Regions from separate parts of the Homo sapiens genome. Here region 1 is linked to region 2. Evidence: promoter capture Hi-C in 16 types of primary human blood cells and fetal thymus (Javierre and others, 2016). All regions are on one chromosome and are shown on one strand. Each heading gives the region's core, a stretch centred on a gene start or on the middle of the fragment in contact. The rest is flanking DNA. Distances are from core to core; before and after follow the strand shown. Region 1 overlaps MERTK (MER proto-oncogene, tyrosine kinase). Region 2 holds the start of IL1B (interleukin 1 beta).

Region 1 (6,998 bases), core at 1,874-4,373, 840 kb before region 2:
GCGGTAGCCTGGAATACAGTGGTGAACAAAATCCTGCCCTCATGGGGTTCACAGTTCATGGGGAGTCAGGCAGTAGTCAAGCAGTCACAAAATAGATTAAAAATGGCAACTGTAATACATTCTATATAAAGGGGTAAGAATGTGTCAGAAAAATTTGGCTGCATTAAGAAAGTCAGGGAAGGCCTTTGTGCAGAAGTGGCTGACACCAGAGCTAAGATCTGAAGAAAGAGCAGGTATTCATTAGATGAGAGAGAAGAAGAGCATTACAGCCAGAAGGAGCAGCACATGCCACATTACCAAAAAGTGGGGCTGCTGAGTACAGCAAATATATTAACAAGATTACAATACTATTTCAAATATTTAGAAATAAAACTATTTCCAGGAACCATTAAACTCAGCAGAAGCTTAAAACAAATGAAAGACTTGTAACAGGTTATTGTTATCTATGTCGAAGTCAGTTCCCATGGATCCTTACTACAAGATCTATTCATTTGTTCCTTTTGTAAAACCACTTTCCAGCTCATTTTTAAATGAAAATACTTTTATTTTTACTTATAAAAGTAACATTATATTTTTTTAAAAATCAGATTATATCGAATAGTCAAAAGGAGAAAGTGAGGCCCATTTCAGGCCCATAGATGGTGTTGGTTGCTATTTTGGCATACGTCTTTCCAAGTGCTTTGCTTTGTGTACATCAGTATTTTTTTCAAAATTGTGTTATCTCTTTAAAATAATCTATGTACCTAAGGTAACTTGAGATTAAATCTGTAATCTAGACTTTCAAATTCATAATACTTTCCCACCAATTAGTCTAAAACAGTGACTAAATGGATTATTAAAATAGACTTCATTTTTTATTTTTAAAATTAATTTATTTTTTTGAGACAGGATCTTGCTCTGTCGTCCAGGCTGGAGTGCAGTGGTGCATTCATGGCTCACTGCAGCCTTGTCCTCCAGAACCCAAGTGATCCTCCCATCTCAGCCTCCCGATTAGCTGGGACCACAGTCACATACCACCATGTCTGGCTAATTTTCTTACTTTTTATAGAGATGAGGCATCTCACTTTGTTTCCCTCGCTGGTCTTGAACTCCTGGGCTCAAGTGATCCTCCTGCCTCAGCTTCCCAAAGTGCTGGGATTACAGGCATGAATCCCAGCCTTATTTTTTAGAACAGTTTTAATTTTACAGAAACATTGAGAAGATAGTACAGAGATTTCTCATATGCTCCATACCTAGTTTCCCCTATTATTAACAGCTTACATTATTAGTGTCACACGTGTCCATGTGAAGAGACCACCAACAGGTTTTGTGTGAGCAGTAAAGCTTTTTAATCACCCGGGTGCAGGTGGGCTGAGTCCGAAAAAGGAGTCAGCAAAGGATGGTGGAATTATCATTAGTTCTTACAGGTTTGGTATAGGCAGTGGAGTTATCCAATATCCAATATCCACTGGAGGACCAATTTTTTGTAAGCAGGGGGTGGATCTTGCAAAGTACATTCTCAAGGGCCCGGGAGAATATTACAAAGTACCTTCTCAAGGGTAGGGAGGGTGTATCATACAAAGTACATTCGCAAGGGTGGGGGAATACCACAAAGTACATTATCCCAAGGGCAGGGAGGGTGTATTGTCACAAAGTCAATTGATCAGTTAGGGTGGGGCAGGAACAAATCACAATGGTGGAATGTCATCAGGTAAGGCAGGAACTGGCTATTTTCACTTCTTTTGTGGATCTTCGGTTGCTTCAGGCCATCTGGGTGTATACGTGCAGGTCACAGGGGATATGATGGCTTAGCTTGGGCTCAGGGTCCTGACAATTAGTACAATACATTTGTTACAGTTAATGAGCCAATATTGATCCATTGTCATTAACTAACATCTCTACTTTCTTGAGATTTCCTTAATTTTCACCTAATGTCCCTTTAGTGTTCTGGGATCCCTTCCAGGATGCCACATTTTACAGTCAGTCATCACATCTCCTTAGGCTCCTCTTGGCTGTGGCCATTTCTTAGACCTTCCTTGTCTTTGATGATCTTGCCAGTTTTCAGAAGTGTTAGTCGGGTGTTTTGTAGGATGCCCCTCTATTGCAATGTGTTCGATGTTTTGCTGATAATGAGCAGGGGTTATGGGTGATTGAGAGGAGGAGCACAGAATTAAAATGCCATTGTCATCACTTCTTATCAAGGGTGCATATTAACATGATGTATCACTGTTGATGTTGACATTGATCACCTGGCTGAAGTAGTATTTGCTGGGTTTCTCTACCATGAAGTTATTTTTTCTCCCTTTCCCTACTGTTCTTTGGAAGCAAGTCACTATGCATAGCCCATATTGACAGCATGAGGGTTTAACTCCCTCCACCCCTTACTAGCTACATAAAATATTTGGAATTCTTCACCACAGGAGATTGGTGTCTTTTCTTCCATTCATTCATTCAATCATATTTTCATAAGTATAGACTTATGGATATTCATTTTATACTCATAGTCTAGTATTACTTTAGTTTCTTGCTCAGACTGTTACAGCTTTGGCCACTGGGAGCTTATCTGTTATTCTCTGTTCTTGGCGGTACCTGGCTAGAGTAGTTTCAATATTGCCAAGTAAGTCTAAAATAAATCAAAGGAAAGAAACACGTTTCTTCTAGGGGGAAAGCTTTTGTTGTAGAAGAGCCCATTGAAAAGCGGAAGCTCTGTAGCATCCTTGTGGAATCAGTGCCTGCCCCAGTAGCCCTGTTTTTATAGTGAAGTATCTTTGTTTTCATTCACCCAGGAATGCATTCACAGAGGAGGATTCTGAATTAGTGGTGAATTATATAGCAAAGAAATCCTTCTGTCGGCGAGCCATTGAACTTACCTGTAAGTTGACTTTCATTTCCCTTTTTGGCAAAAGTTAAAATAGTTGAGAACAAAGAAGGATCAATAGACAGATTTCTAACAAAAGCCAAAGATGTCGAAGAAGAATGGATATTTTTAATGTACAAAATGTCTTTAAAAGCAGCAAGTAGATAGCCAGACATTGCCATGCACAGCTCTGTGGGCTAATTTACTGCAATCAGGAGCTTGACCTGGGGTTAAAAGGACTCACAATGTCATGAAATGTGGCAGAAAAGAGGAACCTTCTAGGGTGACAGAAGATGGGTAGAGGCCAGGGATTTAAAGAAAACTTCTAACTAGTGAACATAATCTCAAGCCTCATTTCCTGTTTTCCTGGCAACCAACTCCGAGGATGATTTGCCAACATGCTTTATAGTAATTATGGTTTGAGCTTTGCTGAATCAGAGAGTGGGGGCTTCTGGTTTAAACAGCGGAAATAAACAGACACTAGTGTTCCTGAATAATTTCAGAAAAAGTATAGAAAGGACATGCAAATATTAACAAATTCATGCTTCTGGATGTTTGCCCCCAATAAAGAAAATAGATAAGAATGACAGAATACAGGTTGCTATGAAATAGAAACTTGCTTGGTGTAGAATATTATTAATTTCTTTACCTTTCTAGTCTGTAAGTTTTGACTTTTAGATATCCTCAATTTTTTTTTTAATTTAAAATTTTAAAATTTGTCATTTAGACCACTTTCTTTCCTTTATTGGAGAACCACTGGATAAAGCTTTTTCTCTGAGAACTAATGTGTCCTAATTATCCACATTTTTTTGATCTTTCAAGAGCTTGTTCATGCCTTAACTGTGGTCCAGACTGAATCATTTGCCAAGAGTTGTTGAACTGGTCCCCTTCTGGTTAATTTCTCTTGTTGCCAACATGACTCATCTATTATATACCTTACTATATTATATATTTTATTATAGAAAAATCTTTTTCTCCAATTCCTCAAAGTGCTCAATTTAGCCCTTGCTATGCTGTTATAATAGGTTTCATATACAGTATGTAAAATAAGAGCTTATTCTCTAGATGTTTCCTGTGGTTTGTGAGACTCCGTCCATGGCATGGGAGGGTAGGGGACGTGTGGTTCTTTTGTATACTGTAGTCAAGGGTATAATATTAATAGTAAAGAATTCACCAGAAATTACCTATTGACTTATCTTCCTTACCCCTTTAAGTCAAAGGCAAACCACCCCTACATGAATCTGATTACCGGCTGCTGCTACCACACAACAGAATGAGAAATGTGGTTCTGATTTTTGTAATTCTTCAGAATTAACCTTGCCCTGAAGGATTCATTATACTTAGTTTAATCATTCTAAAGTATGAAATTTTATTACTGGCATTTTTGGGAGAGAAATAATAGATACAAAATGAAAAAAGGGGCCGGCTATGGTGGTTCACACCTGTAATCCCAGCACTTTGGGAGGCCGAGGTGGGTAGATCACTTGAGGTCAGGAGTTCGAGACCAGCCTGGCCCAGATGATAAAACCCGTCTCTACTGAAAATACATAAATTAGCTGGGTGTGGTGGTGCATGCCTGCAGTCCCAGCTACTTGGGAGGCTGAGGCACAAGAATCGCTTGAACCCAGGAGGCAGAGGTTGCAGTGAGCCAAGGTTGCACCATTGCACTCCAGCCTGGGCAACAGAGCTAGACTCTGGCTCAATAAATAAATAAATAAATAAGGAATGTTTTATTATACAGGACTTTATTTCATTTTAATTATCAAGTGAAAGAAAACACGCTGACAATTTTTGTACATACTATGTTACTCCTTTTTCAGTACATAGCTTGGGAGTCAGTGAGGAACTACAAAATAAACTAGAAGATGTTGTGATTGACAGGAATCTTCTAATTCTTGGAAAAATTCTGGGTGAAGGTAAGCAATTTAAAGTAATTCTTTTAAAATGTGGGATAAGAAGGTAGCAGTTTAGAATAATTCTTTAACATATATTTATTAAATAAAATAGCATCTCAGGACTCTGAGTTATACTATGGATAGTTATATTTTATTATTTAAAATGATAGACTATTGATTTTTGAAACTCAGATCTGGCACATGAAAAGATTCTCTTCAATGCCTAGCACATACAGGTCCTTGAAAAATATTAATTTTCTTTCTTCATTGAAAAGCATGTAATTCATTGAGTAGTTTCCTATGTACTTTAAGTTTATTCCTCTAGTTCTTAAGTTCATTGTTCTTGGCACCTTTCTAATTAGGAACAAAAATGAAAATACGTATTTAACTTGTTAAGTTGTTCTTAGGATGAATGATAATGGTATTAAAAGTTTGTGCTTTAAAAACTTCAATAATATTTTTCATGTTCTCTTCTAAGTGTCTTGGATTGGTTATAATGCTTAATAAAGTGATGAGCAAAGGTAGGCCCAAGCCACCCAAGCTCGTGACAAGCAGGAGACTAGAGCGTGGCGCATCACCCTGGTTTGCGATGTGGGTGGCCTGGGCAGGCTCTGCCTGGCTGCCCGTGGGTGAGTTGCTCTCATACCACATGAAACCAGCAGCTCTGGCACTGTAGCATTTCTGTGGTCAGGGAAGAGTTTGCACAGTGTCCATACAGGTGTTCTTTCACTTCACAGGAGAGTTTGGGTCTGTAATGGAAGGAAATCTTAAGCAGGAAGATGGGACCTCTCTGAAAGTGGCAGTGAAGACCATGAAGTGTGAGTTATCAGTGATGAATCCCATTCTTCTAGGGTGGGCAGTTGCTTCAGTATTGGGTGCTCCATGAGGCCATATGTCACAATCTCAGTTCCCAGTGGGCCAGAAGGCAATGTGGAACACTGGTCACCAAGGGGGACTTACTTTAATGAGCTCTTCATGCATGCATTACATATTCTTTATACTCAAGGCAATAACATTTTTTATTTTTACTAACTCCTGCATGCCTATGCATACATACTGTCTGTCTTGCTCTCTCTCCTTCTCTCACTGTCTCTCTTTCTCTCACTCTCATCTAGTAGAGCTAACAACTCCAAAGTAGAGCATCAATTGCTGAGGCAGGGGTGATCTAATAGCAACATCTGACCCCAGGGGTTGTTCTGGCCGGCCTGTCTAGTGTGGTGGGGCCACTTCCTCATTTGAGGATGATTGCATGGCCCTGAGGAAGCTGCGGGCTGCCTGGCAAGTAAGTTCCCCAGAAAGAGGAGAAATATTTGGTCAAGGCATATGAAGAGTTGCTATCATAAGCTAGAACTTCCAAGCAAGCTGGGAAGAGAGCCAGCAGTGAGACAGGGAGAGTCTTGTAAGTCACAGCCAAGAACCTGCTTTATCCTGCAAGGAGTAGAGCGCTATTAAGAGGCTTAACCAGCCGGGCACGGTGGCTCACGCCTGGAATCCCAGCACTTTGGGAGGCTGAGGCGGGCAGATCACAAGGTCAGGAGTTTGAGACCAGCCTGACCAACTTGGTGAAACCCCGTCTCCACTAAAAATACAAAAATTAGCCGGGCGTGGTGACACACACCTGTAATCCCAGGTGACTGAGGCAGGAGAATCACTTGAACTCGGGAGGCGGAAGTTGCATTGAGCCGAGATCACACCACTGCATTCCAGCCTGGGTGACAGAGTGAGACTCCGTCTCAAAAAAAAAAAGAGTCTTAGCCAAATGAAGAATAGAGCAGGTTAAATTCCAGAAAGTTCACTTTGATGTCAGTGTGGAGGAGAACAAATTACAGTGTTGACAAAAATAGTGGTAGATGCCAGTTAGGACACTGTAAAATCTATGCAGTCTAGGCCCTCTCAAATACTTTCTTTTTTTTTTAATTGAGATGGAGTCTCACTGTGTCACACAGGCTGGCGTGCAGTGGCGCCATCTTGGCTCACTGCAGCCTGCACCTCCTGGGTTCAGGTGATTCTCCCGCCTCAGTCTCCTGAGTAGCTGGGATTACAGGCACCCACCAACACGCCTGGCTAAATTTTTGAATTTTTAGTAGAGAAGATGGGGTTTCTCCATGTTGGCCAGGCTGGTTTCGAACTCCTAACCTCAAGTGATCCACCTGCCTTGGCCTCCCAAAGTTCTGGGATTACAGGCATGAGCCACTTCACCCAGCTTAAAATCTATATAGTTAAGGAAACTATAGTGACTTGCTGACTTGTCTAATTGAAATAGCTAG
Region 2 (6,308 bases), core at 2,731-5,230:
TTATCCCATGTGTCGAAGAAGATAGGTTCTGAAATGTGGAGCACATGTTGTTTAGGTATAAAATCAGAAGGGCAGGCCTCGTGAGGCGAGGCGGCAAAATTTGATTTCTTGGAGGACACCTGAGCATATACGGTCAAAGTCTGATGACAACACCAGTAGGGATGAAGCTGGGAGTGGGGTGGCTAAGAACACTGGACCTGACACTATTAGACATGGGTTCCAGCTTCAGGTCTATTACTGCTCACTGTGGCCGAGCAACAGAGCTACTTAGGTAAAATGGTGATGGTCATAACACTAGCCCACAGGGAGGTTACGAACCTCTGGTGACAATGTAAGTGAAAGGCCCCTGAGAAAGAGTGAGGGAGTTGCAAATGTCAGTAGCCATCAAGATCTTCTTTAAGAATAGTTTCCACTAAAGAGATGATTGCTTTGGTTTCCAGCCTTCTTTGTTTTGTCTCCCCGCTGGGCCTTCTACCTTTAAAGGGCTTTGGCTCTGGGGGAATTGAGTTGGCTGGGGCTTGATGACTTCCAAGAGGACACAAGTGGAGATCTACTGCCTGCTCTTGGCTAACTACCTTCTTCAAAGATGAAGGGAAAGAAGGTGCTCAGGTCATTCTCCTGGAAGGTCTGTGGGCAGGGAACCAGCATCTTCCTCAGCTTGTCCATGGCCACAACAACTGACGCGGCCTGCCTGAAGCCCTTGCTGTAGTGGTGGTCGGAGATTCGTAGCTGGATGCCGCCATCCAGAGGGCAGAGGTCCAGGTCCTGGAAGGAGCACTGCGGAGAGAGCGAGGGAGGGAGCCTGGTGAGGTGGTCCTGCCAGGAACCATGCTTTGACATCAGAGAGTAGAAAGCTCAGAGAGGAGGAAAGGGCTTGAAAGAATCCCGAGCTTCTAAAGATCATCCCTCTCTGGGCCAGGCGTGGTGGCTCATGCCTGTAATCCCAGCACTTTGGGAAGCCGAGGTGGATGAATCATTTAGGTCAGGACTTCAAAACCAGCCTGGCCAACATGGCGAAACCCCTTCTCTACTAAAAATACAAAAATTAGCTGGGTGTGGTGGGGTGCACCTGTAATCCTAGCTATTCAGGAGACTGAGGAAGGAGAATCGCTTGAACTCAGGAGGTGGAGGATGCAGTAAGCCAAGATTGTACCACTGCACTCCAGCCTGGGCAACAGAGTGAGACTCTGTCTCATAAAACAAAACAAAACAAAACAAAACAAAATAAAATAAAATAAAATAAAAAGATTATCCCTCTCTGAAGCTCAAGGAGGTTAAGTGTGTACTCAAGGGCACACAGCAGGTTAGAGGCAGACTCAAGACTAGAATGTGGGCTTTCTGACACCTTACAGGCTATTCTTTTAGAATAAATCCCATTTCTACTTTGTTCATCTTTTTTGTACATGCCCCACCTACACCATACATGTATACCTTCTCTATATCTTTTTGTATCCCTAATGCTGTCACACTATGATTTGCTTTTTCATGCAGATGACCATAACATTTTCCATTCACCTATGCTCACTCAGCAAGTATTCAATTTTTCTACACTGTTCTTTTTTTTCCTTTTTCATAACACTGTCTCATAGGCATTCTGCAAATCCTGTGAGAGTACTTTTTGTGAAATGTTACCACTTTCCTCTTATTCAGAGAAGCTCCGTATTAAGGCTTCACTGAGGTTGCCTTAAGGCATGATAATGGTTCAAAGGCTTGAAAGACAGTTAAAGAGACCTGTAAGTGCACAAAAGAAAGTTGAGCAGGAGAGAATTTCCTGCCTGGAGCAGAGCCAAGCTGCTGGAAGAGGCAATGGGGGCAAAGGCCAGGCAGACAAGCCAATGGGCTCCTCCCACAGCTGCAGCCAACAAGTTATGCCAGTCTTAAAACTTCTAAAGAAATATGTTTTTAACAAGATTGAGGACTGGATTATGAGGCTAGGGGAGGCTATCACAAACTGGAATAAAATAAAGCCAGAGAAAAGTGGCTGCCTCCCAACCTGCACAACTGACCTAGCTAGGCTGATGGCTGGGCCACCTAGGAAGGCTACTGAGCATCATATAAAACAGAAGGGACAGCAGGAATATAACATGGCTCTTTGTAAGGATGAGTCTGAAAAATGACCATTTGCTGCCCAAATGCCCTTAGCTACAACTGAAAATATTTCAGAACTGGAGGTTGCAGGATGCTGGAATCTCAGAGATCATCCAGCTCAGCCCTTTATTTTTCAGATGAGGTCCAAAGCGGGTAAAATGACTTGTCAAGGTCAAACAGCAAGTGAATGGTTTTCTTTCAAGTCTCAATTCATCTTTTTGTTTATATCATCTATGTCTTGTTGTTATAAGCTTCACCCCAGGTAGCAAAAAACTATTCTACTCAAAAGGGGTAGACATATGTTAGTTCTCAAGATCATCTCTTGGTTTCAGAGTTTAACTCAAGTGATTGGCATAGGCTGAATCCATCTCTTAAAAGGATAATCAAATTTATGTTGAAGACTTGGTTGTCTTCCTACTATGAAATGGGAAACATTATCACTACTCCTCCCCTGTCACCACCAAGTGTGGCCACCACCACCAACGTTAGTGAGTGACTGTGGTGATATGATGACCAAGTGGCCAGGTCAGCAAGTGGTGCAGCCTGTGTCTCACTGGAAGAGGTTAAAGTCTTTCTAAAACAAAATACCATGGCATCAAAGTGGCCCAGAACTCCCTTCTTTGAGCTTTCCCTGTGTTAGAGCCCTTCCTTGGGTTGGGAGTTAAACCCATAGTCTTACCTTCATCTGTTTAGGGCCATCAGCTTCAAAGAACAAGTCATCCTCATTGCCACTGTAATAAAAACAGGGACATGTCTCAATTATGTCTTCTAAACAGGTTTATTTTTCCTTCCCTGTGTACAAGACTTGACTGTTCATAAGAAACTGCAAACAGCCTGCCTCTCAAAGCTGCCTGAAACACCTGGCAAGTTTCACAGTGATATGCGCAGAACAGTCCAGAAGGCAGATTCTAGGCCTGGCAGGTGGGCACCCTGGGTGCTCCCTGTTGGATCTTGAGGCCTAACCTCTAGCCCAGCAGAGTCAGCTAAAATCTGAGCTCTCCCTCTCCCTCCAAGCCACACTTTGCAAAGGGATTCCTTGTATTGTGGGCTTGGAGTCTTTTCTCCCCATTTGCCTCTGCAGGAAGCCCTTGCAACAACACATCTGGATAGCCTCCAGGTCCCAAGGCTGGAGGGACTTGTAATGGGAAAGTAGTCTTTAAATCAGATTTACTTGGCACCCTGTTTGCCACTGAAAGAGGCAATTTAGGGGAAAAATCTGGTCTCCAAGCACAGATAACACTCTACTCTTGAAAGAGGAGACCTGCTCATGTTACTGGTCTCAGCGTCTCCACTGACCTGTAATAAGCCATCATTTCACTGGCGAGCTCAGGTACTTCTGCCATGGCTGCTTCAGACACCTGTGTAAAAAGGAGAAAATGAGTGACTTCCCCATGACGGCTACGTTCATGTGTGATTTCTCTCAGCATCCAGTGCATGGCAGTCATGCAAAGAAATGATCTCTGAGTAAATGAATGAATGTGTGAAAGAGAAGTCCTTTGGGTCTAGAGAAAAGCATTTGCTAAACCAAACCCCAACTAGCAATGTATTGGCTAGGAGAGCTGGAGCAGAGGCTTTGACACTAACCTTTAGGGTGTCAGCTGTTAGATAAGCAGTATCCATTCCCAGAATATTTCCCGAGTCATAAGCATTATATTACACCTGGCATTTTTGCAAAAAGCTGAGAGAGGGAGGCAGAGAGGGAAGGAGAGGGAGAGACAGAGAAAGAAAGAGAGAGAGAGAGAGAATATGCATACACACAAAGAGGCAGAGAGACAGAGAGACTCCCTTAGCACCTAGTTGTAAGGAAGATTAAAGTCATACTTGAGCAATGAAGATTGGCTGAAGAGAATCCCAGAGCAGCCTGTTGTGCCTTGTGCCTCGAAGAGGTTTGGTATCTGCCAGTTTCTCCCTCGCTGTTTTTATGGCTTTCAAAAGCAGAAGTAGGAGGCTGAGAAATTTCTCTGTTGAATACCTGATTTCACAATCAAGTTAAAGGAAAGGGGAAAAGAGTATTGGTGGAAGCTTCTTAGGGGAGGGGACTAATAAACTGAGATAATTCTCTGGTTCATGGAAGGGCAAGGAGTAGCAAACTATGACACATTTTGCAAATGTATCACCATGCAAATATGCATTGTTTTCCTGACAATCGTTGTGCAGTTGATGTCCACATTAAAATACTGGATTTTCCCACGTTAGAAGAATGTTTAAATTTAGTATATGTGGGACAAAGTGGAAGACACACAGATTTATACATGCACATACTTTTCTTCATTCACTTCTTTGTACTTAAGTTTAGGAATCTTCCCACTTACAGATGGATAAATGGGTACAATGAAGGGCCAATAGCCCTCCCTGTCTGTATTGAGGGTGTGGGTCTCTACCTTGGGTGCTGTTCTCTGCCTCAGGAGCTCTCTGTCAATTGCAGGAGCCTCTGAGGAGAAAATTGACCTTTCTTGGCTGGGGCAGAGAACATACGGTATGCAGGGTTCAGGCTCCTGACGGAGTTGGGGCAACCCTGGAGATAAGCTCACACAACCCTGCAAGACCAGGTGCTGTTACCCTAGCCAATCTCATGGATGAACCAGATCAATGCCAGATGAGCTCTGCCTAAAATGATTTTTTGGTGAACTCTGAAAAGTGGAATATTGTTTCTGTAAGAATATCCATCTGAGACTCTATCTCTTGGTAATACCAACCAAGAGTTATCAGTTTCTCTTTAACCGAGACACCAGCAAAGTGCCTGCTCCAGGGTACTGCCCAGGGGAGCCCTCCATTTGTAGAATGAATGAGAGTCCAGGTTATGAACAGTGCCTGGAGTGTAGGAACACCCTCCTTTGCCTCTTTGACAGGTCTGCATCATAACACTTTTTTTTTTTTTTTGAGACAGAGTCTCACTCTGTCGCCCAGGCTGGAGTGCAGTGGCACGATCTCGGCCCCCTGCAAGTTCCGCCTCCCGGGTTCACACCATTCTCCTGCCTCAGCCTCCCCAGCAGCTGGGACTACAGGCACCTGCCGCCACGCCCGGCTAATTTTTTGTATTTTTAGTAGAGACAGGGTTTCACCATGTTAGCCAGGATGGTCTCGATCTCCTGACCTTGTGATCTGCCCGCCTCGGCCTCCCAAAGTGTTGGGATTACAGGCGTGAGCCACCGTGTCCAGCCTGTAACACTTCTTATAGCACTGAGTTGAAACCTTGCTCCTCCTGGTTCCTCCAGGAAACTGAAATCTTTTTGAGCCAAGTCTAGCACAGTGCCTGGCATGTACATTCAGGTGGTAGAGTTTGCTGCTTGAATGGGTGAATGGGAATTTGACAGCATTTTTATTCAAATTAGTATGTGCCAGGTATCGTGCTCGCTCTGCATTATCCAAGGGAGTGAGCCTCTGTGCAAGTATTTGAGACACGAGGGAAATAGGTTCTACTGTGGGAAAAAGAGCATTTCATGGACTTGCTCTCCAAGCAGCCTTCTGATTTTTAATTTGGCTCCCAGTATCTTGATATCAGGAGTCAGTCACAAGAACTCCATCTTTAGTAAGTTATATTTTCCACAGGAAATCTAAAAGCTGTTCAACATGTTAGTTTCCTGTGAATTTGATAAGCCATAATCCATTCCTAACACTGAGCCCTCCTGAAATTTGGTGTCTGGTCCTGCAGATAGCTAAAAGCCCTGTCTGGGTGGCCTAGGGGACTCCTCTGTTTTGCCTCCACAGGATCCACTTTGCAAATTAACCACTGGTTCTCCCGTTGTAGGAACTGCCACCTTCCTCAGAGCCTGTCTTTCTTCCTTCCTTCCTTCCTTCCTCTTTCTTTTTCTTTCTCTCTCTCTTTCTTTCTTTTCTTTTCTTTCTTTCTTTCTTTCTTTCTTTCTTTCTTTCTTTCTTTCTTCCTTTCTTTCTCTTTCTCTCTTTCTCTCTTTCTCTTTCTTTCTTTCTTTCTCTCTCCCTCCCTCCCTCTCTCTCTTTCTTTCTTTTTCTTTCTTTTCTCTTTTCTTTCTCTCTTTCTTTCTCCCTCCCTCTCTCTCTTTTTCTTTGTCTCTCCCTCCCTTCTCTCTCTCTTTCTCTTTCTCTCTCTCTCTCTCCTAGACAGGATCTACCTTTATCCCCCAGGCTGGAGTGCAGTGGTACAATCATGCATTCATTGCATGATCACAGCAGCCTCAAACCCTTCCTCAGAGTCTTTATGCGGCAACCAGCAGGGTCTGGAGGGTTGGTGGCTCTGTGAA

Evidence for each region. Contacts are between HindIII fragments. The CHiCAGO score rates a contact against its expected background, and 5 or more counts as called.
Region 1: a fragment that was not itself captured here is called in contact with the fragment with the promoter of IL1B in region 2 in 1 of 17 cell types (monocytes); the score reaches 5.9 in monocytes.

The regions. Positions count from the first base shown.
Region 1 is chr2:111,998,436-112,005,433 of GRCh38, forward strand. It overlaps MERTK (MER proto-oncogene, tyrosine kinase), which reads left to right. Exons shown (of 19, transcript NM_006343.3): 11 at 2,766-2,851; 12 at 4,657-4,752; 13 at 5,469-5,549. Among named protein-coding and RNA genes, the nearest start is that of TMEM87B, 53 kb to the right of the region's middle. The HindIII fragment of the contact is 954 bases long and covers 2,647-3,600 here.
Region 2 is chr2:112,832,799-112,839,106 of GRCh38, forward strand. IL1B (interleukin 1 beta) reads right to left here and starts at 3,981. Exons shown (of 7, transcript NM_000576.3): 1 at 3,910-3,981; 2 at 3,385-3,446; 3 at 2,768-2,819; 4 at 576-777; 5 at 1-28. The coding sequence starts at 3,431. The HindIII fragment of the contact is 1,771 bases long and covers 2,338-4,108 here.